Linked DNA regions of Homo sapiens: regions 1, 2, 3, 5 and 6 are each linked to region 4. The links are contacts of gene promoters, found by promoter capture Hi-C in blood cells and fetal thymus (Javierre and others, 2016). All regions are on one chromosome and are shown on one strand. Each heading gives the region's core, a stretch centred on a gene start or on the middle of the fragment in contact. The rest is flanking DNA. Distances are from core to core; before and after follow the strand shown. Region 1 overlaps PTDSS1 (phosphatidylserine synthase 1). Region 2 overlaps CPQ (carboxypeptidase Q). Region 3 overlaps CPQ (carboxypeptidase Q). Region 4 holds the start of CPQ (carboxypeptidase Q). Region 5 overlaps CPQ (carboxypeptidase Q). Region 6 overlaps CPQ (carboxypeptidase Q).

Region 1 (4,746 bases), core at 2,247-4,746, 320 kb before region 4:
AAACCAACTTAAACATATGACCCCCATGAAATATGCTCTGACCTCCAAGGCAAGTAGATAGCTCCCTCCTTGGGACCAGTAGTGCTTTGTACGTAACTCTCAGTTCTAACCCCAGTGCAGTGGAATTTGTTTTTTTTCTATCTGTCTCCTCCACACTGCACTCCTTGCTCAGAGAGAATAAGTTGAAGTCATCTTTTGGCCCCACTGTCTCAAGCACCGTGCCTGGTGCATAGGAAGCACTCGGCAGCTTCGTGGAGAATAAAGGAGTGAGTTCAAGAGACAAAAACTTGCGACATGCAGGTGGCTGGGGGGCAAACATACAAAGACAGGAAGCTGTGAGAGTGCCCAGTGGCTCAGGAAGGTGGTGACCTGTTTGAGGAGTGACAGTGAAGAGTTGGATGAAGAGTAGGACAGGGTCCCCTGCTTAGGAAGGGCTTTGTGCGGCTGTAGTTGCAGCCCCAGCAATTTTCAAGCGGGGAAACAATGTGGTCTGATCTGTGTCTCATGGGGAAACACCATGGAGGCTGGGAGAGTCTAGAGGGAAGATGGGTTGGGGGGAAGAAGTACAGTCAGAGGTGCTGCCAGGCCTAGTTGACAAGTAACTGAAGCTGAACCAAGGCAGAGGCATTGAAGATGCAGAGGAAGGGCTGGATCTGAGAGTTGTTTAAGGAATGTGCTCAACAGGATGCCATTCCTCTTGTGGTAGCTGGGAGGGGACTTGAGTGCCACTCCAAAGGTTCTAACTGGTGCCACTGGGTGGCCACCAGTGCTAGCGACAGATTGGAGGATATAGGAGAAGCCCATTGAAAGGAGGAGGTGAATTTGGTTCAGGGGATTTGGGTTTGAGGAACCTTTAGAATTTACAGGTGGAAGTGTCCTGTTTTATGGGAAATTCTAATCTGTCAATAACACTGGAAGGATTTGGTCGTTGGTGGAAATAAAATACTTGGGAGGAGCCCATGTGGAGGGTGCAGTTGGAGTCCTGGGATTAGGTTAAGAGCTCAGGGAACATGCCTCTGGGAGAGGAGCTGACTGAGGCTGGGATACCTTAATAAGAGGTCAGGCCGGGGACGATGAGCAGGATTTTGAAGACAGGCAGAATCTCTGATTAGACTTACAGGATGAGACATGAGAGAGGGACGTCGCCCGAAAAGAGGCCCTGAGACAGGATGATTAGGGGTCTCCACTGCCTCCCTTTAAAGAAGAACAGAAACAAGGTCCTGGCACTTTTTAAAATATTCCTGACCTTTATTATAAAGAGCAAGATTGATCGCAGACTCAGGAGTAGAGGCGAACATTATTCAATAAGAGAGCTTCAAGTTACACCATGCCTTCTGCCCCACTCAGAAAAGCAAAGCCCCTAATTACTCCCCTGGCCTGGTAAGAGAGCGCACACGGAGCTTGAGATTAATGCAGAAGCAAAGATCCCGGGTGCTGGTTAATAAGCTTTTCCAGGAGCGTGGTTGTCTGCTCGGCCGTCATTAATTTGAATGCTCATTACCATAATGTAGAAGCCAAGCTGGGGTCCTGCGCCCTCCTTGCCGCCAGCCCCGTGGTCCTGGACAGCCTGGCTCTCATCCCACGTAGTTTCTTCTCGCCCCCCCGCCCTTTCTTTAAACGAAGTGTGCAATTGCTATTTTAAATCTGAGCCTTGACATTTTCAGTGGGTACGTGCCTAGATTTCCACAGGTGTGATTGCAAACCTGTAAATTACCGGCTTCCGTTTGCTGGGACAAGTGTAAAATGGGCCTCTTTGTACGCAGGTGAAGTAGATTTGGCAATCACAACAGACCCTTTGTGTGACGATTGTGATGATAAGCACCTGTCGTTCTCCACTTGCCTGCTGTTTGCCGCTGGAGGGAGCGGCAGCTGCCACTGCCTGTCATATTGGGCCTGGGGCTGGGGAAGGGAAGAGCCCCGCGTGCCTGCCCTCTGGTGGTCAGAGTTTGCAATGACAGTCTAGTTGAGGGACCCGCCTCCCCACAGCCCTCTCGTTTGGGGAGGTGGAACCTAACCCCCCCAGTCCGCTGTGTGAAACCCAGAATGTTCTGTTTTGCTCTTTGTAAGGGGCCTAACGCATACACAGGCTTACACTCTGCAAATCATTTCTAGTCCTTCCCACTCTTTCCATGCCATGAAAATGGCACACTTAACGTTGGTATATCTAAGAAATCTGGGCAAGCATTAGAGTATGTTAAAGGTTGGAAGTCATTTTCACTTTGTAGTTTTAATGTATTCATTCGTGGCCTAATTTTTTGATGGATATGAGCTTTTTAATAAATCCCTAACCTGTAGGTATATGCCAGTTTGCACGTGGGTTTAGTAGGAAATGAACCAGTGGCGCTGCTTGTGCTTCTCACTCTCTCTCCACGCTGCCACTGTTCCTGCTTCCACGTAACTGGCACGGAAGAGGACAGCTAGCCAGAGTGTTGCTCTCCTTTCTTTTTTGGAACTAAGAAGGCACTGTGTATCCAGCAGCTGCCAGGAAATGTCGCTGATAAAGGAACTGGGCCAAAGCTCGACTGCAAGCTGCCATGATGAGAATTCACAGCCCCTGCCTTCCCGCCCTACCACCAGACTGTGGCTGTGCAGAGGAGAAGCTGCTGCTGTTCACTGTTCCCATGATGCTTTTCGTTCTCAGGGATGGATACATGGATGGAGAAATAAAGCTATATAGACATAAAGCCAATATTTGTATCAGTAGCCATCCCTTAAACCCAGATCCGGGGGTTTCAAGAGATCTGAGTTCCGGCTCCAATGTTCACCTCTCTGAGCTTTCATTCTTCTTCTGGAAAATGAGGGGCAATGAAATTAATGGTCTCTGAGGTGACCTTTTGGATCTAAAGTTATGATTCTTAGAACTAAAATTATTTCCTTGAGAAGGTCCCTCCATGCTCTCACAGCTGTCCCCACAGTTGGTGCAAGATGAGAGGGGTCCAGGAAAATGACAGGTGCCCAGGTGTCCACAGGAAATGCAGGGGGAGAGATGGAGGCTCAACAGCCAGGATGGCTTGATGTGAATGGGTTTCTAGAGTGAGGAATTTGGAAGGAGCTGGCAGTTGCCTTGTTTTGTTCTGGTTGCTTTGCTTGCAGTGGGGAAGGTGTGGCCGGGGAGATTCATGGCCCTGCTCTACCGCTCACCCTCCCTCCCTCCTGCCTTTGGTATGCAGTCCAGGCAGCTGGAGACTTTTCCTAAGCTTTGATTTTTTGACATGTTTTGAAACTTTGGATTCTTGTCTGTGCTTTTCTTTCCTTAAATTAGGGTATAATTTAGGGTGTGGGGGCAGGCCCAGTGAGTGGGGCAAGTGTGGAGTAGAGGTTGTCCCTGCCTCTGGGCACCCACAGGCCACACCCTCCTCATTCCACTCAGGGCCTTAAGAGCATCTTTATTTTCTCTTTGTTTTCCTATCCATATAACCAAGAAAAACAAAGCAATAAAAACTGGGGTCCACTCAAAAGCCTGGAAAAGCAAGGGCAGCCCTGTCCAGCTAAGCTCCCCACCCTCTACCCTGGGAGTGTTTGTCCGTGGGCCCTCAGGTGCCGCTGTGACCTCTTCCCCCTAGAAGCTGACACACTGAGTCCTCTTAGCGCTCTCCTGTGATGGGGAAGCCGGGAGAGAATGGACCCTGAAAATCAGAACTAGAACATAGAATCCTCTCTATCTTCTTCAACAGAACCCGCAAAGCTATCAAGAAAATGCATCCCACCATATTGCACATCTGAAAATTGTCTTTCTTGCTTTCTGATAGTAGAGTCACAGGTAGTAACTGTGGTCTCATCATAACCTTTGTTGTCAGAAGCTTTGGGTGTGCACCCTCCCCTTGAGGTCTGATCTCTGCCACGTCCAGCCGTTTTGTAACCGGCGTCCAGACGGCAGAAATGCATTGAACGGTCCTGCATTGATTCCCACTGAAACCCTGAAGTTCTGGGAAATTGAACTTTTTTGTGCAGCATCATTTGTTTTTCTCTTCCAGGCTTTCACCACTTTCCTCTGTCTGTACGGCATGATTTGGTATGCAGAACACTATGGTCACCGAGAAAAGGTATGGAAGGAGAGGCAGGCATGGCCATTGTTTAAAATAATCACCCCGGGCTCGGCAAATTCGCTCAGAGCACGTGCCTGTAAGGATATGGCGAGGTAAACACTGAGGTTGGGGCCTCCAGTCCTGCCACTGCAGAAACCGCATGTCACAACTCATTCCCTAGCCATTGCTGGCCCTGCTTGTGACGGCTCTGTTCAGTAGACCAATATTTTTGTCTAACTTTTGTTAGATAAAAAAAGTTATGTTTGTTTGGAGAAAAAAAGAAAAGTGATGGGAAAGCTGTGGACTGGCTTTTGGAAGCTGGGTTTTCTCCCCAGCTCTTGAACTGTGTGGAGGCCTCTTCCTGTGTTCCGGCCTGTGGCTCTTCTGGGCAAACGCTTGCCCTGACCTTCATTTAGTAGATATGAGGATACCATAGAAAATAGACATGAATGGCTTTAAGACACGATGGCCGTCTGGTAGACGGTAATATTTTTTTCGGTAAAAATAACACTTTCATCCTTTATTTACACCTTCAGTCTAAAGAACTTAAGGCATGTTGTGGAAGATTGATTCTGCATCACCTGTGAGAGGAAAGAACCTTGTTTTTATAGCAGAGAAATATAAGCACAGGGAGGTTCTGTCACTTGCCAGTGATGATCCCAGCCTGGGAGAGGCAGGGATGCAGCATGCTCGCCTTTTTGCCCTGCCACTTCTCCCAGGG
Region 2 (4,882 bases), core at 1,674-4,173, 480 kb after region 4:
TGCGTGAACAAAAATCTGCCCACCTAGAATTCTATAATCAGCAAAAATATTCCTCAAAAATAAGAATGAAATTAAGAATTTTTTAGACAAACAAAATTTGATGAGCAATTTTTTCACCACTCTAAGAAATGTCGAAGGGAATTTATCAAGTCAAAATAAAATAATGGGAACTCAGATTTGCACAAAAGAGAAAAGTTTCTAAATTAATAAATATGTAAGCTGGGTGTGGTGGCTTATGCCTGTAATCCCAGCACTTTGGGAGGCCAAGGCACGCGGATCATTGAGGTCCGGAGTTTGAGAACAGGCTGACCAACAAGCTGAAATCGCATCTCTACTAAAGATACATAAATTAGCCGGACATGGTGGCGTGCACCTGTAATCCCAGCTTCTCAGCAGCCTGAGGCAGGAGAATCGCTTGAACCCAGGAGGCAGAGGTTTCAGTGAGCCAATATCACACCACTGTACTCCAGCCTGGGCAACAGAGTGAAACTCTGTCTCAATAAAATAAAATAAAATAAAATAAAATAAAATAAAATAAAATAAATAAAATAAAATAAAATAAAATAAAATAAAATAAAATAAAATAAAATAAAATTAAAATAAAATAAAATAAAATATAAAATAAAATAAAATAAAATAAATAAAATAAAATAAAATAAATAAAATAAAATAAAATAAAAAAAATAAAATAAAATAAATAAAATAAAATAAAATAAATAAAATAAAATAAAATAAAATAAATAAAATAAAATAAAATAAAATAAATAAAATAAAATAAAATAAAATAAAATATAAAATAAAATAAAATAAAATAAAATAAAAAATAAAATAAAATAAAATAAAATAAAATAAATAAAATAAAATAAAAATAAAATAAAATAAAATAGTGAGTAAATATAAAAGGCATTTTGGTTTTTAAAATAGCTTGAAAAGTAAATGGACTGTTCAAATAAAAAATAATAAAGATATAATAATGATATAATAGGAAAAAATATATGATAATAGCATAAAAGAAAAGAGAATAAGTGGAAGTATACTATTGTAGAATTCTTAAATATATGAAGTACATATCTAATGAAGACTGTGATAGTTAAAATGCATATTGTAAATGCTAGAGCAACCATTTTTAAAAAATGGTATAGCCAATAAGCCATAGAAAAGATGAGATGGAATTTGAAAAGAAAAACCTCATATGAAATGAAAGGAAGAAAGGAACAGTGAAAGAATAAAGAATAAGGTACAAAAAAATCAAGATGATATAATACAAACTCAATATATCAGTAATTACATTAGGCATAAATAGACTAACCATGCCCCATTAAAAGACAGAAATCGTCAAACTGAATAAAAAAAGCAAGATTCAGTTATATGCTATTTACAAAAAAAATATTTTAAATATAAAAATAGCTAGGTTAGATATAAATGGATAGAAAAAGATATACAGCAAATTCTGTATACGTGAAGGCTGTCATAATTGTACTATCTGAAAAAGTTGGCTTCAAAATAGAGAACATTATTAGAGAGGAGGAGGGACATTTTATAATGGTAAAATAATCTATTCATCAATAAGACACAGTGATCTTAAAAGTAAATTCACTCGCCGAGGTGGGCAGATCACAACAAGGTCAGGAGTTTGAGACCAGCCTGGCCAACATGGTGAAACCCCATCTCTACTAAAGAAAAACAAAAATTAGATGGACTTGGTGGTGGACACCTGTAATCCCAGCTGCTCTGGAGGCTGAGGCAGGAGAATCGTTTGAGCTGGGGAGGTGGAGGTTGCAGTGAGCCGAGATTGCACCATTGCACTCCAGCCTGGGCGACAGAGCAAGACTCCGTCTCAAAAAAAAAAAAAAAAAAAAAAAAAAGTAAATTCATTCAATTACAAGCTTTGAAAACTACATGAAGAAAAAACTGACAGAATTGAAAGAATACACACATCTATAGTTGTGGCTGGAAATTTCAACACTTCTCAGCAGTTGTTAGAACAAGTAGCTGGAAAGTCTGGATATGGAAGATTCAAACAATACTATCAATCAACTTGATCAAATTGATATTACAGAACACTGCATTCAACAACAGCAGGGTGTACATTCTTTTTAAGTGCACATGGGGTATTCACCATGATAGACTATATGCTGGGTTATAAAAGCTTCTCAACAAATTTAAAAGGATTAAAATTATATGAGGTCTGTTTGTTGACCACCATGGAATTGGGTAAGAAGTCAAAAGCATTAAGATATCAAGAAAATTCCCAAATACTTGGAAATTAAATATCACACTTCTAAATAAGCCATAGATCAAAGAAGAAATCACCAGGAAATTAGAATTTATTTGAACCTTATTGATAATAAAAACACAATATATCCCAGTGTATGGGATGAAGCTAAAGCAGTGCTTAGATGGAAATGTGTAGGTTAAATGCTTATGTTAGAAAAGAAGAAAGTTCTAAAATCAGTGATCTAGCTTCCACATTAAGAAGCTAACAACAACAACAAAAATACTAACCTTAAGTACGTAGAAAAAAGTAGAAATCAATGAAATAGAAAATAATAAATAATAGAGAAAATCAATGAATTTTAAAACGGACTTTTTGAAACAAAGCTATAAAACTGATAAACTATCAAGCTGGTCAAGAAAAAAGAGAAGATGCAAACTGGCAATCTCAGGTGTGAAACAGGACACATGACTACACATACGTCATTAAAAGGGCACTAAAGGACTCTAATGAACAAACATATACAAAAAATTCAACAACGCAGATGACATGCATAAATTCCTTAAAAGACAAATTGCTAATACTGATTCAAGAAGAAATAAAAAACCTAAATACTCCTATAAATTAAATGAATTGAATTCATAAGTAAAAGCCTTTACTCAAAGAAAACCCCAGGCCCAGGTAGTTCCCTAATTAATTCTGTGAACCATTTAAAGGATAAATAATAACATGACTATGCAAACTTTAAGAAAACAGAGAAAGAGGTAAATACTTCCCAACTCATTTTATAAGGCGTGTATGACACTGATATCAAAACCAAAGATATGGTAAGAAAACTATAGACCAATATCCTTCATAAATATAGACACAAAAATTCTTAACAAAATATAAGCAAATTAAATTCAGCCATATGTAAACTGGATAATATACTATGTTCAAGTGGCATTTATCTTAGAAATTTAAGGTTGGTTTAATATTTTTAAATCGATCAATATAATTTACCACATTAACATAATAAAGGAAAGAGTATGATCATTTCAGGAGGTGCATAAAAAGCATTGCACAAAATTCAACACCCATTCATAATAATGACTTTTGGAAAATTAGGAATAGTGACAGCTTCCTCGACCTGTTAAAAGGCAGTGATGTCAAATCTTCAGTTTAATTATGAAAGAGTGAATGCTTTCCTACTACGATGGGGAATAAGACAAAGATTCCCGTTCTCACCACTTCTATTTAAACATCATATTGCAAGTACCAACTAGTATAATTAGACAAGATAAAGAAATCAAAGATTACAGATTGCAAAGGAAGTAGTAAAATTATTATTATGAATAAACAACAGAATTGTGTACTGTCAACCTAAATAACTAAAAGAGAGGGGCTCTGTGAAAGAAAGATGTTTATCTGGGAATAGAGCTTTGCAATGGAAATACCTAGGCTGTAGTTAACTATGTGTGTATTCAGGGAGGTAAAGGAAGACAAAGCTTTTTCAAGGAAAAAATGAGGAAGATTACATAATTGTTTTAAAATAATTATCCTTGACTACAAAGATCAATAAGAAGGGTGCGATGGGTACGCTAAAAGCCCAGACCTCACAACTGCACAATATATACACGTCTTCTGCACTTGTACCCACTAACCCTATAATTTAAAAAAATAATAATAAAAAATAGCAAGAGTGACACCTTCTGAGGTTGGACAGGTAGCTGCTGGGCAGATGTACTTACAGAAGTAAGTTTTATGCAAAGTCTTGATGGTCTCTGTGCAAAGTTGTGGTTTTAGCGGTCTTTTTTGTTATCAGGCATGCAAGCATGAGAACCCTCTCTTCGTGACCTTCCCTAGCTGTATTTGTTTGGGTTTTCATAACATTTATGCCTTCATTTTTATTCTGATAACTTTCACAGTACATAGAAAATCCTAAGAAAACTACAAACATATGCTGCTAGAAGCAAGAAGTAAACTTAGCAAGGTCACAATATACAAAATTAAAGTTTATGTCTGTATACTAAAAACTAGCAAATAATATTTTAAAAAATAACATCAAAGAACATGAAATACTCAAGAATAATTTTAATAAAATACATGTAAAATTTAGGAGATTTTTAAGCAGACTTAAATAAATGAAAGAAAAATTTTGAAAAGGAGAAAAAAAATTTGAGGACTTACTCTGATTTCAAAAACTTTCATCTACAATAATCAAAGTCATGTGGTATTGGCATATTGGCATAAGAATAGACAGATCAGTGGAATAGAATAGGTCTATGCGTATATGGTCACTTAATTTTTTACAAAAGTACAAGGTTATTCAACGGGAAAAGGATAGTCTTTACAACAAATAGTGTTAAAACAGATATCCTTAAGGGGAAAAAAATGAACCTTAGCCCTTATCTCATACCCTGCACAAAAATTAACTCAAAATGGATCATAAACCTAAATGTAAAATCTTAAACTATGATAATTATAGAAGAAAATATAGGAGAAAAATCTTTTGACCTCAGGTTAGGTAAAGATTTCTTAGATTACTAAAGGAACTAACCATTTAAAGAAATTGATAAGTTGGACATCATCGTAAGTAAAATTTCCACTCTTTGGAAGATATCATTAAGAAAATGAAAGGCAAGCCACAGAGGAGAAAATACAATACATACGTCTGACAAAGGACTT
Region 3 (4,968 bases), core at 2,029-4,528, 350 kb after region 4:
TCCAATGGTACTGTACTAAATGTGGCTTCTGCCTGAGGATGCACTTGTGTCTGAGGAGGATCTAGACTGTCCAAGTGAGCTCTTATTTTAAAGCCCCTCTTACAGGTTGGCTCTTAAGGACTGAGGAGAAAGCAGGGCCTTTAGCATCAGACAGGTCTACTTTTGGAAGCCCATGTAGTTGACAATCTAGCTACATGGGACAATGTAGCTACAGGGAAGGAAATGTTAAAGAAATAATTATATGTGTGAAGAATACCTAGATGTAGGGCAGATATTATTATTATCATTTAACATGAGGAAAACTTAGTCTGAGAGAAGCAAGAAGCTTTGCTCCAAGTTTTTGAGACAGTGACACAGATAAGGTGTCTCTCCTTATTGTATAATAGGGACAATAATAAAGCCATCTTCAAGGGATGTTGTGATGAATCAGTCAGAAAATGTATGTGAAGTTAATGAGCAAAGAGTCTGGCCATAGTATTAATTAGTATTAATACTATTAATAAGTATTCAATAAAGGAGAGTCTCCCACTTTCTTTCCTTCCACTCTGTTTTCCATAAATTAACCAGAGATAAAAGTGGTGGAATTAGACTTCAGTCCTGTAATGGTGCACCTGAAGTGCTTCCTCTCAATTCATATCCATCTTCCAGATTGCTTGTTGTACCCATATTTTCTGTTAACACAAATTGGAGGGAGTATCATGACTTTCATTTGTTGACAGATACACAAATGGGCAGAACACAATGATGAATGTCTCAATTCAGACAGGAATTGAATGTTGCCTGTGGGGTAGGCTGGCTCTGCCACCTGCACTGACAATACATCATCCCTGGAAATTAACCCATCTTCACCATAGCCATTGAAATGGAAAGAAGTGCTTGTTCATTAAAAACACCTTCAAATGGAAAGGATGAAGGTCTAGCGTAGTATATATGGTGCATTAATATCTATAATCATGTTTAATTTGCATTAGTCTAACTCTGCCACTTGGAAACTGTTTTTAAGATATTGTGTTGCCTGAATGGGTTTGTGTATGCATTATTTGCTTCTTGAATAAGAGCTGAACAGAAGCTAATAGCTTTATATAAAATATAGTGATTACCAAATTCAAGAGTCAATGTCCTGTTTCACATTCATTCTTGCTCACTTTTAGTACAAGCTTATGCATCATCAGGCATGTTGTATACAAAAATAATGATGTGGGTCCTGGTCTTTATAGGTCTAATGGGTGGTAGTTCCATATTTCTGTAAATTTTAAAAGCATTATTACTCACTAAATATGGATCATTTTAAAATAATTAGATATATGTATGAATAGGCTTCATATCACAAAGTTTTATTTTCTTTGTTAAGGATATGAATCCTAATGTCTTTACTATTGAATCTGCTAATTCAAATAATATCTATCAGTAGGTAGATGAGCTAAACACTAAGCCTGTATGTCAAATTTTATACACGATATTATGCTTAGATGCATACATAGCAAAACCAATATTTACAATATATTGGTGTACAAACAATATATTGGTGTAAAAAAATGATTAGTGCTTCATCAAGTTAATACATTCAGGTATCATAATTATGTATTATTTCATAGTGTATCAACAAGGAGAAGAGAAACTAGTTATTTCAAGCAGGAAGTGATTTAATTTAGGGAAATAGATTCTATAACAGAAAGAATTAATGTTTACCAAACACTATATTGTTCTCCCGTTCTCTCTTGCTGTTAATTGGGACCCTGTGATAGTCCTGGCTGAAGGACTGTGAAGGGGAGGGAAGAATTAATATCCCAGGGCCTAACTGGTTAAGAGCTTGTGTGCCTCTTTCAACCCTCACTTTCCCTGGAATAAACCTTGGAGCTATATGTTGAAATAGAAAATAAAAATATGGATGAATCTTGGTCGTCTGAGTCACCAGATAGAGGAGATCTCTTGCCAATCTGCACGGGATTTTGCATGAACAAAAAGTCACCTTTTACTGGGATAAGCCACAGAAATTTCAGAGTTTTGTCTATTGAGACAGCTAGGGTTAGTTACTGTAAAAATACTAGGGCCTGGAAAAATGTTGGAAGGATTGAGAGAGGGAAGATCAGGTTGCAACTACTAGTATGCAGAAAATCATAAAGCATAGGAACTGCAGGAAACTGTCACCAATGATCTCAGCTGTCTACAGCACCAAAGTGAGTGGTCAGTAGGAAGATACTTGGAAGCTGTTAGCAAAAGCTCACATCTGGGGTCTACCCAAGTCCATGTGACTGCCTGTCTCAAAAGAGTAATAATAGTTCTATTTATCTTTTGTCTTTGAAACCTTGCATGAATGAGTCTAATTGTCTTAATTTAAACCATAACCCTGCTGGCAGAGATTCTAAGAAATGTAGTTCTCATGCTTCCAATCCCTATAATACTAAGGAGAGCGTAGAAGGAGAAAATGGTGTCAAATTGCCAAAAAAAAGAACCTGGCATATAGAAGTAGCCCAATTATTAGGTGATGACATGCCCCAGTTTGTCTGGGACAGTCCCAATTTATTCCTGTTGACCTAGAGTAATTTTTGATAGTACCCCGTTTCAATCTCAACATGTTCCCTGCTTGGACACTAAATTATATGGACATCGACCTATTAATAACATGATAAAAATACTTTATTTCATCAAAAAACACTTATTCAGGATATGCTAAGTGCTAATCATTGTGTGGGACATTGGTCAACAGAGGCATTTATGACCTTGGCATTCATGAAACTTAGAGTCGAATCTAGTGAATGATGGGAGCCTAAACAAGGCAATAGCTATGAGGATGGAGCAGAGGAGGCATACTCGAAAGAGGTTGAAGAACTAAATCATACAGGTCTTGATAACTAGCATACTGGTTAAGACCCTTAGGCTCTTACGTCAGACTATCCAGGTTTGAACACCAGCTCTATCACTTGTTGGGTATTTTAACTTGGGAATTTACCAACTAATCTCTGCCTCAACTTACAACTCTGTTAAATGGGAATTATAATAATACTTATAAGATTGTTGTGAAAATTAAATGAGATAAAAATTTATAAAGTTTATAAGAGGGCCTAAAATATAGTAAATGCTCAAGAAATATCATTATAGTGAAGAAATTGTGGTGGTTGTTGTTTTATAATGGCTGAATATGAGAGAACTGTTAAGAAAATCCTAGGTTTCTGACTTGAATATCTTGATGGATGGTTATGTAAAATAATAAATGCAGAAGAAGCTGATTTATGTGGGGGAAAATAGTGCATATAGTTTGAATGGATTGCTAGAAGAGTAAACAGAGGAATTGGCATTCTAATTTAAGTGGGGGAAGTAATGCATTTGGTTTGATTATGCTGAGTTTGAGGGACTGGTGGGAAATCCAAATGGCAAGGTCTGATAGCAGCTGAATAGTTAGAATTGGGGCTCAGATAAAGATCTGAGCTGAAATTTAGACTTGTGAGGTTTTTTTTTTTTTAAAAAAAAAACACTTCTATTTTAAGTTTAGGTGTGCAAGTACAGGTTTGTTACACAGGTAAACTTGTGTCATGGGGGTTTGTTATACAGATTATTTCATCACCCAGGTATTAAGCCTAGTACCCATTAGTTGTATTTCTGGATCCTCTCCCTCTTTCCACCATCTCACACCAGTCAGAATGGCTGTTATTAAAAAGTCAAAAGATTTGTGACTTTCTAGATGGTAGCTGAAGCCAAGGAAATTTGGGAGATGAATTAGAGAAGGTATTCAGAGTAGACCAGAACTTTAAAGGGCAGAGGAAAAGAAACATATGAGAAAGACAAGAAGGAATTGCCAGAAAAATAGAAGAGAAGCAGGCAAGTGATGTGAAGGAAGGCGAGGAAGGAGAGAAAGCCAGAAAGAACAGGGTGGACGATGGTGTTAAGTGTCAAGCACAAATCAAGAAGATGAGAACAGAAATGATTTCCACAGATTCAGCAATTGAGGGCTTTTGCTGATTTTAGTAAGAATAGATTCAGTGGAGTAGGGAAGGTGGAAGTCTTCTCAGGTCACCAAGGGTAGAGGTAAGAATGAGAAGAGAGAACATATAGATCATGAAATATTAATCTTCAGGGTGCTTGGCTGTGAAGGAAAGGAAAGGGTCAACTGGTGGCTAGAGGCTTTTTAAAAGCACAGCCTACAAGATCCTTTGGTCCTAGAGTTGCACAAAGGATTTGCAGACCAGGAAAGGTTTAGATAACATGACCACCAAAGTCTTCCCCATTTCAAAGTGTTTATTATTTCATGATTCTCTGCTTAATAAGTACCAAGGTTCAGCTTTTATTTTCACAGGTTGTTACCTGTAAAGAGGGTACAAAATCTGTTTTATCCTAACAAATTTAAGTTAGAATTTAGTTTGATCTTACGAGTCTTTAGGGAAATATATTTTAGGAGTCAAAATGTGTATCTGTACATAGTATATTTATGAATATTGTTCTTAATTTTTAATTCAGTACCTTTACAAATTATTTTATAATTGGTTCCTGTTTTCAACCAGTTGCTTGTGCTTATATATGCAATTTGTCTATTTTTTTCATATCTGTTTTCAGCTTCTCCCAAAGAATTATCATTAGGTCATAACACTGGGGGAGGTTTACTGAATGATCATTCTTTTCAAAGACTTTACCATTTCCCCCAGAGCCTTGGTTGGTTTATTGACTAGAGCAAAGCAGTTAGTTTGCTATTAGTGGAATAAGGTAGGCAAAGCATCTGGAAATGTTCTACCAGGAGGAGCCAGTGGCCTTGTTTTCGAAAAGTCCCAGGTCTCCCATCACTCCCTCCAGTCTTGCTAGGGCATGAAAGAATCAGAATTTATAACTGCATCATAATTCTGTACTACAGCCTTTCATCTGGGATCTTCTGTTTGGAAAGTCTCTTCAAATGTTTTCTTAGCCTCAAGGGAAAAATTTCTCCCAGAGATACCTCAATTTTGATCAAAAGCATTCACAAGTCCACTTTTAGTTTTTTCT
Region 4 (4,667 bases), core at 1,964-4,463:
CTGGCAGGCTTGAATGGCTGAGTCTACTGAACTGCAGAGATGATGGCCTCCCCTCCCTCCAGGAGCTCTGTCCCAGGGAGAGATCAGAGCTCTGTTCATAAAACAGTTGCTGGAGGGGCTTAAGGAGGTCCTCTCTAGCGAGGAGGAATGACTTGGGGTCCCGCTTACAGAAGCAGTCTGGCTGCTTTTTGGTAGGGCAGGTGTGCTGCATTGTAGCAGAGGGAACCCTTCCTAGTTTAGACCGTCTGTATTCTCCACATCCAGGAGGCTGCAGCAGCTGAGTCGGCTGAATCACAGAGACGGCAGCTGCCCCACCTGCTGGGAACTCAAACCTGTCTCAGGCAGACTCCTATCCACTGCCATTGGCTGGCTGGGATTCCAAGCTGGTGGGTCTTAACTTGTGGGGTGTCATGTAAGTGGGGCCTGAAGAATGGTATTGCTTGGCTCCCTGGATTCAGCCCCCTTCCTACAGATGGATTTCCTGCCTTGCTGATGATTGTGGCCAGAGTATGTAAAACTTCTGGGCCTCTTTGTATGTGCCTGAGTGGCTGCTCTGTCAAGACAACACACAGCTCTGTGTATCAGACTCAAGGCCCTGGTGGTGTGGAGTCATGAGGGGGTCTCTTGATCCACAGGTTGCAAAGATTCATGGGAGAAGCATGGTTTCCTGGGTTGCACAATCACTCACCACTTCCCTTGGCTGAGGGTGGAGGTTCCTTTGGCTCTGTGCTGCTCCGAGGTGGGCTCCCCACCCTGCCCAACTTTTCTTCATTCTCCATGGGCCGGTGGTTTGCCTAGTCAGTCCCAATGAGAGAACCTGGATATTTCAGTTGAAGGTACTGAATTCACTTGCCCCTTCTCATTCCTCCCTGAGTGCTGCGGGCAGGGGCTTCTAATTGGCCATTATGGATTGATCTCCCTGCAGTGAAGTGTTCTAAGTAGGAAGAACACATGGTATTGTGGAAAATCAACATAGCATGGTGGCTCAGAAATAGATTCTGGAGCCAGGCAGGTTGCTTGGTTTGGAATTCTGGTCCTGCAACTTACTGCAACCTCTCTATGCCTTAGTTTCCTCACAGTTTAAAGAGGGATAAAATAATATCTATAGGTCTATTTGCGAGGTTTTAAAATTCTTGGAATAGTACCTGGCTCATTATACATGCTATAGAAATGCTTATTCAATTAAATAAATAAAAGCATCTTTGGTAAGATAACTCTGAACATTGTATGGTTTAGTAGAGGATGCTGACAAGAATAAATAATTAAAACATATCATGAAGTAAGCATAAAAGATAGTGGTAATGCAAAGATGCGAATGAGCTCTGCTTCCTGTGATTAGTGTGAGCAGACAAATTCACTGTACTCAGAAGCTTAAAGCCTAGCGTGGGAAGCTGACATGAATGAAAACCAACGGGAAAAAATGTTAGAGTAGAGGTGTAAGCAAGAGTGATTAATTTCAACTTGAAAGCAAATGGGGGAGGTTTCACAGAGAGGGGCCCAGCATGTTGGTTGATTGCTTGGGCTCCAGAATCAGGCCAGCTCAGTTTAATGCTGACTTTGTACCTCACTGGTTTTGTGACTTGACCTCTCTAATCCTCCATCTCCTTATCTGTACAGTGGGGGGAAATAATAATGATAATAATAGGTAGCTCATAGGACAAATAAGAATTCACAGTTAATGCATCAAAAATCTTAGCACAAGGCACTCAATAAATGTGAAGCTTTTATTGTTATTACGAGTTGAAACTTGAGTGGGAAAGAACTTCGTTCACATTAAACATGAGAAAAGGCCCAGAAGTTGAAAAGCATTTGACATAATTAAAGAACAGCAAGTCAGTGCCACTTAAACGGTAATCCAACCACCGCCAGTCAGTGAACAGCTTTTTACTGCTCCATGAACAGGTAAGTATAGAAATTGTGAGTAAGCATTTAGAAATAAAAACAACAACAACAACCAATAATTGAAAAACTAATTTTATACTTTTTGGCATACTCATTGTACACTTGTAATAAAAACTGGGCTTGTAGTTTTTGTCTCTTTTCTTATTTGCTAGCAGGTTTTGATTTGTATTTTACAGAAATAATGGTCCATGTCAGATTGGAAATAATAAAAACTTGTCTTTTACCCTTGATAGTTTGAGAAAAAAGTAATTCAGTGGGGTTAGATATGGCATCCGAGAGATGATTCGGGAAAGGTGGGCCAGGGCCATGTTTATGTGGACCCTCCAATGCCTCAGAGTTCACACTTGTTTCAGTGGGCAACAGGACTAGTAAGGTTTAGAGGGACTGTTAACCGAAGGTGAGTGGACTTTGCACATTTTATGGTATTTTTTTTTTCCCAGTAGGCATGTGCTTATTCTTTCTTTTCTTTTCTAATTAAAAGTTCTGTTTGGTTTTTTTAGTTAAGAGGAGAGACTGGAACTGCTCAGTGTTTCACAAAGATAACTGTTTGTATTTGATAAGAGTTTCGTTAAACAAAGGAATTTGCACTTATCAAAACATAAAGCATTGAAAACACTGAGCACATACTCTGTGACCAGAATGCGTGTGACTTGTTGAGATAAGCCACACCGGGTAATCAGATGAGTCTCCTTTCTTCTTGGGCACCCTCATATAATTCAGGCACAAACGAAAGAGAAAACGCTTTTTCTGATCTCTCAGTTCGGGTCATCTCTGCCTTCCATCATCACCGCCTAACAATCCTACACCTGGCAGGGTGGGAAAACGGTTTAATAATCTCTTCCCTTTGGGAGGCGTTTGACAGCTCAGAAAGCATGGCCTTTACTCAGGCTCAGAGACACACAAAAACCTTTCACGTTTTCCTTTCAGCTTCGCAGCCCCGTCCTTCTCCACCTGCACGGGCACCCACTGAAGCACAGGACCCTTCTGCCAAGCCATGAGCCTTCTCAGGCCCCTGCCGCCCGCCTCGCCTGAGGCTGCGCTTCTGAAAAGCACGCGGCCCTGGCCTGCGCACCACCCAGTCTGAAGGCGACGCCCCTGCACGAAGGAGTCAGGCCTAGGGGCTCGGGACCCAGGGCGACACTCAATTTTCTAACAGGAGCCACAGCCCAGAAGCTGAGAAGCCTTCCGGCCGATCTGTGGCCCTGAGGTCGCCCTTGGAGGGCGAGTGAGAACCCCCCAGGCGTTCCGGAGGTGGCCCCCAGCCCGAACCCGGCGCCCGCCCCGGCTTCCCGAGTCAGGTCTTTGCCCCGCCTCTCGGCCCCGCGGCCTGGCCGGCAAGCAGGGCTGCAGTCACGGGGCGGCGCGGAGGGCCCCAGCCCAGTCAGGGGTGTGGCCGCCGCCACCGTAAGGCTAGGCCGCGAGCTTAGTCCTGGGAGCCGCCTCCGTCGCCGCCGTCAGAGCCGCCCTATCAGGTGTGTTTGCAGCCGAACTGGCAGTGCCCGCGGGCGGCTGGGCCGAGGCCTTGGCTCCTACCCGCGGGGGTCGGGCGGGCTGAGGCTGGAGCAGGCCAGGGGCGGGGGCAGAGGGGGACGGACTTCCAGCATCGCTCATTCGGGGGCGTGACGGGAGGACCTGGCTGGGGAGCGGCGGGTTGGGAGCCTGTGGCTGCCCCTTCGGTGACAGTGGAGTCACCGAGCCTAGAAATGGGGAAGCTGTGACGTGGGGGTGGTGGAGGGTGCTGCGGGACAGCAGCGAGCACGGCCCTCAGCCGTCCTTCCCAACACGGTTTCACTTCCCCTCAGCTCCAGGGCTCAGCCCCAAGCCGCCCCCTTCATCCCCCATCTGCAAACAATCCTGGTCCCCCTGAGCCTCCAATATGCCTTATGCAGTTCTTTTGGGGTTCCTTTCGCATTTTACCGTGTACTTTCGCTTTTGATGCGTCTAGTTTCTGCTACTGGACTCTCCTAGAATCGAAGTTCCATGAGGGCAAAGTCCCATCTGACTTAGGACTCAGAGCTACTCAATAAGTAATTGAATGAGTACCTATGCCGTAGAACTGAGTGAATTAACAAATGAGTAAGTGAATAAATGAGTGCATACGAGATACAGCTGAATCAATCAGTGCATGAGTGAAAATAAAGATGTATGAAGTGGAAGCAGTGGAGACGCAGGCTTACAACTCCTGTTTTTTGATAGCTTTCCAAAAAGTTGTGTGAATGTCGCACTTTTGCAAATGGAGGCATTCTGATTGGGACCACTTAAAAAGAGTTCTATGCTGTTCAAATGGTCTCTGGAAACGCCCCCTGGTATTTCCATTTTTGTTGGACTTGGCTATATGTGTTTGCTTAAAACAAAATATGCCTAGGTTTTTTCTTGCTTGTGTTTTGTTCACTTCTACTTTGGACGTTTAAAGAATCATTGTCACTATAATATTATTTCATGTATTTCTTAAAGATAAGGGTGACTCTGAAGGCAGAACCATATGACTCTGACTTGTTTGTAAAACCAGGCTTTTCTTTTGAATTCAGAGTTGTTAAGAATCTTGTCTGTTTTCCTGAGACAGGTGCTGGCTGATTTGCAGGTGACTGAAGAAGGCTACATAAGGCCCAGAAAGACGCTTATCTGTTTGTAAACAAATAGGCTTAGCACATAGCTTTAATACAGTTGGTCACTGCAGCCGTTCTTACTTGCCAGGTCCAGGTTCCAGAAGAGCTGGATGACCTTGGACTTGCCACTTGATCTCTTTAGGTTTTAATTTCTTAATC
Region 5 (4,664 bases), core at 1,502-4,001, 330 kb after region 4:
GGAAAGTTCATAGCATTAAATGCCTAAACCAAAAATCTGAAAGAGAACCAATAGACAACCTAAGGTCATGCCTCATGGAGCTGGAGAAACAAGAACAATCGAAACCCAAACCCAGCAGAAGAAAATGACGAAGATCAGAGCAGAACTAAATGAAATTTAAAAAGAAAAAAGATAAATGAAACAAAAGCTGGTTCTTTGAAAAGATAAATGAAACAGATAGACCAACGAGATTAACCAAGAAAAGAAGAGAGAAGATACAAATATGCTCAATTAGAAATGAAATGGGAGATATTACAACTGGTACCACAGAAATACAAAAGATTATTCAAGGATACTGTGAACACCTTTACACACATAAACTAGAAAATCTAGAGGAGATGGATATATTGAAAGTATACAATCCTCCTAGATTAAACCAAGAAGATACAGAATCTCTGAACAGGCAGTGAGATTGAAATGGTAATTAAAAAAAATTCCAAACAAAAAAATTCCAGGACCAGATAGATTCATGGCTGAATTCTATCAGATGTTCAAAAAAGAACTGGTACCAATTCTACTATTTCAAAGGATAAGGAAATAGAGAATCATCCCTAACTCATTCTATGAAGCCAGTATCACCCTAATACCAAAACCAAGGGAGGACATAACAAAAAAAAAAGAGAGAGAGAGAGAAAACTACAGACCAATATCCCTGATGAACGTAGATGCTAAAATCCTCAACAAAATACTAGCAAACTGAATCCAACAGCATATCAAAAAGATACTTCACCATGATCAAGTGGGTTTCATACTAGGGATGCAGGGTTGATTTAAGAGACATAAGTCAATAAATATGATACATCACATAAACAGAATTAAAAACAAAAATCACATGATCATCTTAATAGATGCAGAAGAAGCATTTGACAAAATCCAGCATCGCTTTATGATTAAAACCCTGAGCAAAATTGGCATAGAAGGGACATACCTTGAGGTAATAATAGCCATCTACAACAAACAGATAACATTATACTGAATAGGGAAAGTTGAAAGCATTCCCCCTGAGAACTGGAACAAGACAAGGATTCCCATTTTCACCACTTCTATTCAACATAGAATTGGAAGTCCTAGCTAGAGTCATCAGACAAGAAAAAGATATCAAGTGCATCCCAATCAGTAAAGAGGAAGTCAAACTGTCACTGTTTGCTGATGATATGATTGTATATGTAGAAAACCCTAAAGACTCATCCAAAAAGCTCCTAAAACTAGCAAATGAATTCAGCAAAGGTTCAGGATACAAAATTAATGTACACAAATCACTAGCTCTTCTATATACCAACAGCAACCAAGCTGAGAATCAAATTAAGAACTCAACCCCTTTCACAATAGCTGACAAAAAAAAAAAAAAAAAAAAAAAAACCTTAGGATTATACCTAACCAAGGACGTGAAAGACCTCTACGAGTAAAACTAAAAAGCTCTGCTGAAAGAAATCATAGATGACACAAGCAAATGGAAACACATCCCATGCTCATGGATGGGTAGCATCAATATTATGAAAATGACCATACTGCCAAAAGCAATCTACAAATTCATTGCAATTCCCATCAAAATACCACCATCATTCTTCAAGAAGTAGAAAAAACATCCTAAAATTAATATGGAACCAAAAAAGAGCCCGCATAGCCAAAGCAAGACCAAGCAAAAAGAACAAATCTGGAAGCATCACATTACCCTACTTCAAACTAAACTATAAGGCCTTAGACACCAAAACAGCATGGTACTGGTATAAAAATAGGCATATAGACCAATGGAAGAGAAGAAAGAACCCAGAAATAAAGCCAAATACTTACAGCCAACTGATCTTTGACAAAGCAAACAAAAACATAAAGTGGAGAAAAGACGCCTATTCAATAAATGGTGCTGGGATAATTGGCAAGCCACATGTAGGAGAATGAAACTGGATCCTCATCTCTTACCTTACATAAAAATTAACTCAAGATGGAACAAAAACTTAAATCTAAGACCTGAAACCACACAGATTCTAGAAGATAAAATTGGAAAAAGTCTTCTAGACATTGGCTTAGGCAAAGACTTCATGACCAGGAACCCAAAAGCAAATGCAACAAAAACAAAGATAGACATATGGGACTCAATTAAACTAAAAAGCTTCTGCACAACAAAAGAAATCATCAGCAGAGTTAACAGATAACCACAGAGTGGGAGAAAATCTTTACAATCTATACATCTTACAAAGGACTAATATCCAGAATCTAAGAACTCAAATAAGCAAGAGAATAACAAATAATCCCATCAAAAAAGGGCTAAGGACATGAATAGACAATTCTCAAAAGAAGATATACAAATGGCCAACAAGCGTATGGAAGAATGCTCAACATCACTAATAATGAGGGAAATGCAAATCAAAAACACAATGCAATACCACCTCACACCTGCAAGAATATCCGTAATCAAAAAAAAAAAAAAATAGATGTTGGCAGGGATGCAGTAAAAAGGGAACACTTTTACACTGATGGTGGGAATGTAAACTGGTACAAGCACTGCGGAAAACAGTGTGGATAATCTTTAAAGAACTGAAAGCAGATCTACATTTAATCCAGCCATCTCACTACTAGGTATCTACCCAGAGGAAAAGAAGTCAGTATATGAAAAAGATGCTTGCCCACTCATGTTTATAGCAGCATGATTTGCAATTGCAAAACCATGGAAGCAGCCCAAATGACCATCAATCAATGATGGGTATATATATATCATGGAATATTACTCAGCCACAAAAAGGAACAAAATAATGGCATTCACAGCAACCTGGATGTAATTGCAGACCATCATTCTAAATGAATTAACTCAGGAATGGAAAATCAAACATCGTATGTTCTCATCCACATGTGGGAGCTAAGCTATGAGGATGCAAATGCATAAGAATGATACATTGGACTTTGGGGACTCAAGGGAAAGGATGGGGGACAGCAAAGGATAAAAGACTGCACATTGGGTGCAGTGTATACTTCTCAGTTGATGAGTGCACCAGAATCTCAGAAATTACCACTAAATAACTTACTCATGTAACCAAACACCACCTGTTCCCCAAAAACCTATTGAAATAAAAAAAAATTTTTTAAAAGAATTTGTTCCTTTCCTTTTTTTAATTACATGTAAAACTAGGTTTATGGCCATGGGGCATCTGTGACTCCTCCTCTTTTTCTTTAGAGATGATCTTCTCATTTTTTATTCTGATATGTTATTTCCTCTAGCGGCAACTTATGTTAGTGAATGGCTTTTCTGTAAGACCCATGGCAGATACATATTTTTTTTTCTGCTGGGAATTGCTGAGAGCTTTTCCTAAGGTTTGAACACATTTAGAAGCTTCACTAACACACTCAACAACCTTATGTCTCATCAGTTTACATAGACATTTCTACTAGGATGTGTAAAAAGACAAATTGTGTGTAAATTGATTTGCAAAATACATCTGTGAGATAAAGCAAGATTTGTTTACAATGAGTCACTTAGAATGTGGTCTACCTTTTAGTCTGGATTTGGTATGAGAGATTCCATAGTCATTTTAGAGCCTTAGGCTACATGAATATTGCTGTTGTTATTGTATCATTTAGTTAGAATATACAATTTCTGTGCAAAAGTAGACACCACCCAGGGTATACAGCATAATAATGACCAGTTCTTTTCTATCTGACAGTCTGGAAGGGTGGCAGATGAATGCTATGAGAGGGCCCCCTTTTCTACAGCATGCTTAGCTTCCTCCCCGATGTATGCTTTGATTTGGCCTTAGAAAGTGAAGGCATGTGGTTGTAAAGGAAGCGGAAGCTTAAGAAATTGGTATCATTTATCCTGGAGAATAAGGGCCATAGAAAATCTTACTAATGGTATCCTTAGTGCCCCAGTGGATTTCCTCCCACCCAAGAATGGAATACATACAAATCCATGGTAGGGCTGTCTGGAAAACCTAGGCTACCTTATTGCAATGGTATCATCACTGTATCACACACTTGGCTCACAAGGAGACGTCTTATTTCAATAAGAAGCTTTGACTGCCCACTTCATGTCAGGCAAATAATATGGACAGGACACAGTTCCTTGCGTCAAGGAGCTCATAGTCAGGCAACAATGGCTTCACATGGATAGAGGCATTTAAACCAGGCCTTGAAAAGTTAGGAAGTGGTAAAAAAAAAAAAGAACAAATTAGAACTCATGAAAGTACATAGTTTGAGGAGTAGAAGATGTCTTCATAAATCTAGAGTAATGGGTGAGTGAGGAGGGGGTGGGAAACGAGTAAAGTGAAGGATGAGAGTTTGTGAAGGGTACTGGATGCAAAGCTAAAGGTTGGAGTTGGTGCTATAGGCAGCAGGCACCACTGAGGATTTTAAGCATGATAGGACTTCTTTCTAAAATAGGGATATCACATTGACTATTTTAACTGCTAAAGTACTATGATAAATAGAATAGAGATACAGAAAAACAGAGTAGGGAGATCCCAGTTATACTGAGCCTAGAGAACTACAGCTTTGGAGTTGCTTAGCAAATTTTATTTGCTGTGGTGGATGAGCCAGCTTCTACTTCTCTATGTTAAATATACCAAAGAGGAAGTGATGGGGTTTCCAGGGATGCTGTGTTCTTCGCCTACACGCTTCTCTGCATCATGCTAATGCTG
Region 6 (4,628 bases), core at 380-2,879, 310 kb after region 4:
CAGGAGTTCCAGACCAGGCCAACATGGTGAAAACCGGTATCTACTGAGAGTACAAAAATTAGCCAGGCCTGGTGGCACGTGCCTGTAATCCCAGCTACTCAGGAGGATGAGGCATGAGAATCACTTGAACCTGGGAGACAGAGGTTGCTGTGAGCCAAGATCACACCTCTGCACTCCGGCCTGGGTGACTGAGTGAAACTGTGTCTCAAAAAAACAAAAAAAAAAAAGTCTGTAGGGTACCAAATGCTTTTTTTTTTTTGGAGACAGGATCTGGCTCTGTGGTACATACTGGAGTGTAGTGGTGTGTTCATGGCTCACTGTAGCCACAGTCTTCTGGACTCAAGTATCCTCCTACCTCAGTCCACCTTCCCCTCTCCAGTAGCTGGGACTATAGACGTGCACCACTACACCCGGCTATTTTTTTTTTTCAATAGAGATGAGTTCTCACTACATTGTACAGGCTGGTCTTGAACTCCTGGCCTCAATTGATCCTCCCTCCTTGACTTCCCAAAGTGCTCAGATTACATGTGTGAGCCACCATGCTCGGCCTTCTTCTTTTCTAAAATCCCACCCACTTAGCATGACAAAGGCCTGGGACATAATGGTAAGTGAATAGTTGTAAGGAATGAGAAGTTTTAGCTGTGCACTGTACCATGCTTGGATTTGATTATGGGAAAGATGATCAATATTAACATAGAAGTTACCTAAACTCTCTGTGTCTTTTCCCTTACCTCAGGAAGTTCAAATACAATGTTGTAATTCAGCTCTTCTACTCTTCCTGTCCTCTCAAATGAGACAACTTATACTGTGGTTGCTGAGGCTAAATAGAGGAGGAATTCAAATACATGGTTCTTCTACTTAAGATCATCTCCAGTTGCATCAAATCATGACTTCTGGATGCAACCCAGTTGCCTCCATTTCATGAGAATGGTTTCCTTCCATAGACATTCTCTGCTGTTCCCCTATCATTGTCAAATCAATGTTTAATCAATTCCAGCCATTTCTTGCAAATCCACTGCAATCACATTTTATAAATCTACCTAGTGCTTGGTTTTCATGCGCCGCAGATAAATTAGGTCCTTCTTGTTTTATCCTGAGCTATCAGTCTAGTAACATGCTCACAGCATGCAACCAGGAATAGGCATGATCTCCTTTTTGTGAGTCTAATCTGAGTGTCCTTTACAAGTAAGAGGGGATAGTCTGAGAGTGGAAACAGCTCTTTTCAGGACCAGCTGGGTGATCCATGAGCATTTGAACAGATGGCCCATTTTTGTGGGAAAGGATTCTGTATCCTACAAGCTAACACCCAACAGCTTCACTGAAAAAAAAAAAAAAAGCTTGAAGATAAGAAATCAATTCAAGAGGAACCCACATGTTTGCTGTGTTGCCTCTGAACACACCCTGTATGTCAAGAGCTTAGCTTTATTCTGTAGACCACCTAGTCAGAATCATTGGGGAGGAAAATATTTGTTCAAACATAGTCCCTTTTGTCTGTGCTGGGCAATAGCACAATACATTCAGCAACCACCCTCTGAAAGCCAAGGCTTTGTCTCCAGTGGGGATTATGAAAACATGGATTTCTTGAGAAGTGCCTGCCCACCTGTGTTTAGATTTTAAATTTTAGGAAGATGCTTGACAGCCAGAAAAGAGGTGCTCAGGGAAAAGTCTGTTGAGATTATAGAGACTTTTTGAAAGACCATTACCTCCTTTAAAATGATTAGAATAGAAGAGGAATTCTTGAAAACTGGCATGGAATATCGTATTAGATGGAACCTTGGAAGGTTTTATTTATCCCTTCTCTTTTAGCTTTCTGTCTAAGGCCTCAGAATGTAGTCTATTTTAGAAAATCTCCAAGGCAGGAAATTTTTCATAACCTTTCCCCTGTTAGTCATTTTTTTTAACTTCAACAAAAGCCTGCATCAGAAGCTTCTTGCTCGCTTATATGACCCTAACGCTCACTGCTGCAGTCCAAGCCTGGCTTCCTTTGCACTTTCTTTTGCTGTTCATATTCTTCACAGTGGGACCTGTCTTAGCTGAAGCCCATTATTAGGTCACTCCTTGGCCTCTTCTCTAAGGCTAAATAATGAGTTATTTTTTTTTCTCCTTTTTTGGTACATCATATTTTTTCAACCATTTAATGATTTTTGTTGTTGAAAATTTGGGGATTTCCTGTGTCTGGAAATGCATTAGGCCTCAAACTTTGTACCCCTAAGACTTTTCCTGCTACCTTTTAAAAGACACCAAGTAAAATTAAGACTAGGAGAAGACAGCTGCTGCAATTTTTAAAAAATCACAAAAGCAAAAAAAAAAAAAAAAAAACCAAAAACACCGAGTAGCTGTCTTTCTGGTTTTTGATTGAGCAAGATATTTGTAAAATGAAGCATACTTTATTGTCAGATGGGCCTGTTGTTTACTGACAATTGACCAACATGAATGTGGTCAGGTTTAGATGAATATCTATACAACTCACATAATTTTTAATGAAGGGAGTTAAAAGCTAAGCATGCCAAGAAAATAAGTATGACTCAAAAGTGGCCCTTTCTTAGTATATTGGATGTATTATGGCTTCTAGTTACCAAGGGCCTTTGAAGATGACTGGGCCATTATTTTAATACTTTTTAATATGCTTCTGGATTCAATTATTGCAGATTTTTACAATTATATTTGATCTCTAGTTAGTTTATAAGGAGGACACTATCTTTGTCAGGTTTTAATATCAAGATTGTGATAGCTTTGTAAGTAAATGTAGATATTTTCTATACTTTTTCTTTGCTTTAGAACAGTTGAAATAGAACAAGATCAATCTGACATCTAATGTTTGGTTGAACTCACTTGTAAAACTGTCTGAGCCCCTTGACTTCCAAAGGTAGGTTTTTGATAATTCTTGCTATAGTTTAACATATCACACATATGGAAGACTTTATTTATCTATGTTCAATCTAGAGAATAGTAATGGAAGGATTACACATGTTCTCACCACTGAGTTGCAGAAACAGAACACTATCAGTGTCTTTGAAGGTCACTGTGTTCCCGTACCTGATCACCTCCTCCTCTCTGCCCTAACCCCCATTTGACATAAACACAATGCTAACTTTGGTATACCATTGCTTTGCTTTTCTTCATAGTTATACCATCTTTGTATATATTATTACTGAAGATTATATTATTTAGTTTAGTTGAAATTTATATTATAGAATCATAATCTTCTACTTCTTTTGTCTTTTTTGGGTTTTTGTTTTTTGTTGCCTATTTTTGTTTTGAGATTCATTTATATTTAATAATGCATCACTAGGTCATTTTCAGTTCACTTTACTACTTTGTAATAGTCCATTGTATGACTATTCCACAATGTATCGATTCTACTGATGATGGACATTTGTGTGTTTTCAGTTTGAGAACTTCTGAATGTGTCTGTATGACCGTTTTGGTCCATGTCTCCTGGTATTAGAATTCCTCTAATGTTTACACCAAGAGTGGAATTGTTGGATTGTGGAATGCCCATATGTTCAACTTTATAAGGATATGTCCAATTGTTTTCCCTTAATTATTTTAACAATTTTCTGCTTCTACCAGGAGTGGATAAGAATTCCTATTGCTCAGCCTCCTTGCCAAGATCTCATTTGTGTGATTTTAAATTTTTTGCCAGATAGTTGTAAAGTGGTATCTTATTAAGGATTTAATTTACATTTACATTTCCCTGATTGGTAATGAAATTGGTCACCTTTTCAAATGCTTGCTGTCATTCATAATTTCTTTTCTGTGAAATGCCTCTTTATGTGTTTTGCCTATTTGCTTTTTGGGTTGCTTGGCTTTTTTATTGATTTGTAAGAATTCTTTACCCATTTTGAATATAAATCATTTTGAGTTATATATATTGTAAATGTCTTCTTCTAATTTCTAGCAACTCCTCTCATTCTATGATTTCTCTTGATGAACATAAAGCCTTCATTTTATGATAGTTAAATTTATACATCTACTATTCATGCTTTGAATTTTTATTCTATTTTTAAAATCTCCACACTGAAGATATAAAGATATTTTTCTCTGTTGCACTTAAAACTATCATTATATTGTGTTTATTTATTTTCCATCTTCCCACCAGAATCTAAATTCAATTAAGGCTAGAATATTTGCTTGTTTTACTCATTTCGGTATCTCTAGCACATAGTGGGAACTCAATAAAAATTGTTGAAGGAAACCATGACTGAATGCCAGAGAGGGTGAAATGTTCTTCAGTATCTTGCATTAGCTCATTTTCCTAAGAATGCACATCCTCTGAGGCTATTTCCTCTCCCTAGTCCTGCCATATTTTTCATATGTCTCATTTTCATCTCATAATCAGGTGGATCCATTTGGACTCAGTGTCTTCATATGCACCAGTAACAGAGGGGCTTGTCCTCAGGCTGCTGTCTGCACATCTTTGATTTCGTCCATCTCCACTCTCAGACCTACAGCTGGCCTGCAGGTGGATGTATGCCGTTGTCATTCTGGTTCCTTCTCCTAGCAGGCTTTCATCCAGTGCATTTCTGTTCGACTGCGGTGTATTCTTCCCCTATTCCCAAGGCCCTCATTCCCAAGGTAGTCAGGGCTAATTTAGTCTGCCTCGCAAATAACAAACCCTACATTTC

Evidence for each region. The method cuts DNA at HindIII sites, captures the fragments that hold promoters and counts their contacts. A CHiCAGO score of 5 or more calls a contact.
Region 1: a fragment that was not itself captured here is called in contact with the fragment with the promoter of CPQ in region 4 in 1 of 17 cell types (neutrophils); the score reaches 5.8 in neutrophils.
Region 2: a fragment that was not itself captured here is called in contact with the fragment with the promoter of CPQ in region 4 in 2 of 17 cell types (monocytes and naive B cells); the score reaches 6.4 in monocytes.
Region 3: a fragment that was not itself captured here is called in contact with the fragment with the promoter of CPQ in region 4 in 2 of 17 cell types (monocytes and neutrophils); the score reaches 10.9 in monocytes.
Region 5: a fragment that was not itself captured here is called in contact with the fragment with the promoter of CPQ in region 4 in 3 of 17 cell types (neutrophils, monocytes and total B cells); the score reaches 9.1 in neutrophils.
Region 6: a fragment that was not itself captured here is called in contact with the fragment with the promoter of CPQ in region 4 in 2 of 17 cell types (monocytes and neutrophils); the score reaches 6.7 in monocytes.

The regions. Positions count from the first base shown.
Region 1 is chr8:96,326,239-96,330,984 of GRCh38, forward strand. It overlaps PTDSS1 (phosphatidylserine synthase 1), which reads left to right. Exons shown (of 13, transcript NM_014754.3): 11 at 3,975-4,043. Among named protein-coding and RNA genes, the nearest start is that of PTDSS1, 67 kb to the left of the region's middle. RefSeq lists enhancers at 1,043-1,578, 1,579-2,114. The HindIII fragment of the contact is 603 bases long and covers 3,196-3,798 here.
Region 2 is chr8:97,122,387-97,127,268 of GRCh38, forward strand. All of the region lies in intron 7 of CPQ (carboxypeptidase Q), which reads left to right. All of the region lies in intron 2 of LOC101927066 (a long non-coding RNA gene), which reads right to left. Among named protein-coding and RNA genes, the nearest start is that of TSPYL5, 150 kb to the right of the region's middle. The HindIII fragment of the contact is 1,553 bases long and covers 2,148-3,700 here.
Region 3 is chr8:96,992,210-96,997,177 of GRCh38, forward strand. The region is part of intron 5 of CPQ (carboxypeptidase Q); the gene reads left to right. All of the region lies in intron 2 of LOC101927066 (a long non-coding RNA gene), which reads right to left. Among named protein-coding and RNA genes, the nearest start is that of TSPYL5, 280 kb to the right of the region's middle. The HindIII fragment of the contact is 4,247 bases long and covers 1,156-4,968 here.
Region 4 is chr8:96,642,029-96,646,695 of GRCh38, forward strand. CPQ (carboxypeptidase Q) reads left to right here and starts at 3,214. Exons shown (of 8, transcript NM_016134.4): 1 at 3,214-3,374. RefSeq lists a silencer at 3,089-3,638. The HindIII fragment of the contact is 6,363 bases long and covers 1,720-4,667 here.
Region 5 is chr8:96,974,875-96,979,538 of GRCh38, forward strand. The region is part of intron 5 of CPQ (carboxypeptidase Q); the gene reads left to right. All of the region lies in intron 2 of LOC101927066 (a long non-coding RNA gene), which reads right to left. Among named protein-coding and RNA genes, the nearest start is that of TSPYL5, 300 kb to the right of the region's middle. The HindIII fragment of the contact is 1,215 bases long and covers 2,145-3,359 here.
Region 6 is chr8:96,957,592-96,962,219 of GRCh38, forward strand. All of the region lies in intron 4 of CPQ (carboxypeptidase Q), which reads left to right. The region is part of intron 2 of LOC101927066 (a long non-coding RNA gene); the gene reads right to left. Among named protein-coding and RNA genes, the nearest start is that of CPQ, 310 kb to the left of the region's middle. The HindIII fragment of the contact is 589 bases long and covers 1,336-1,924 here.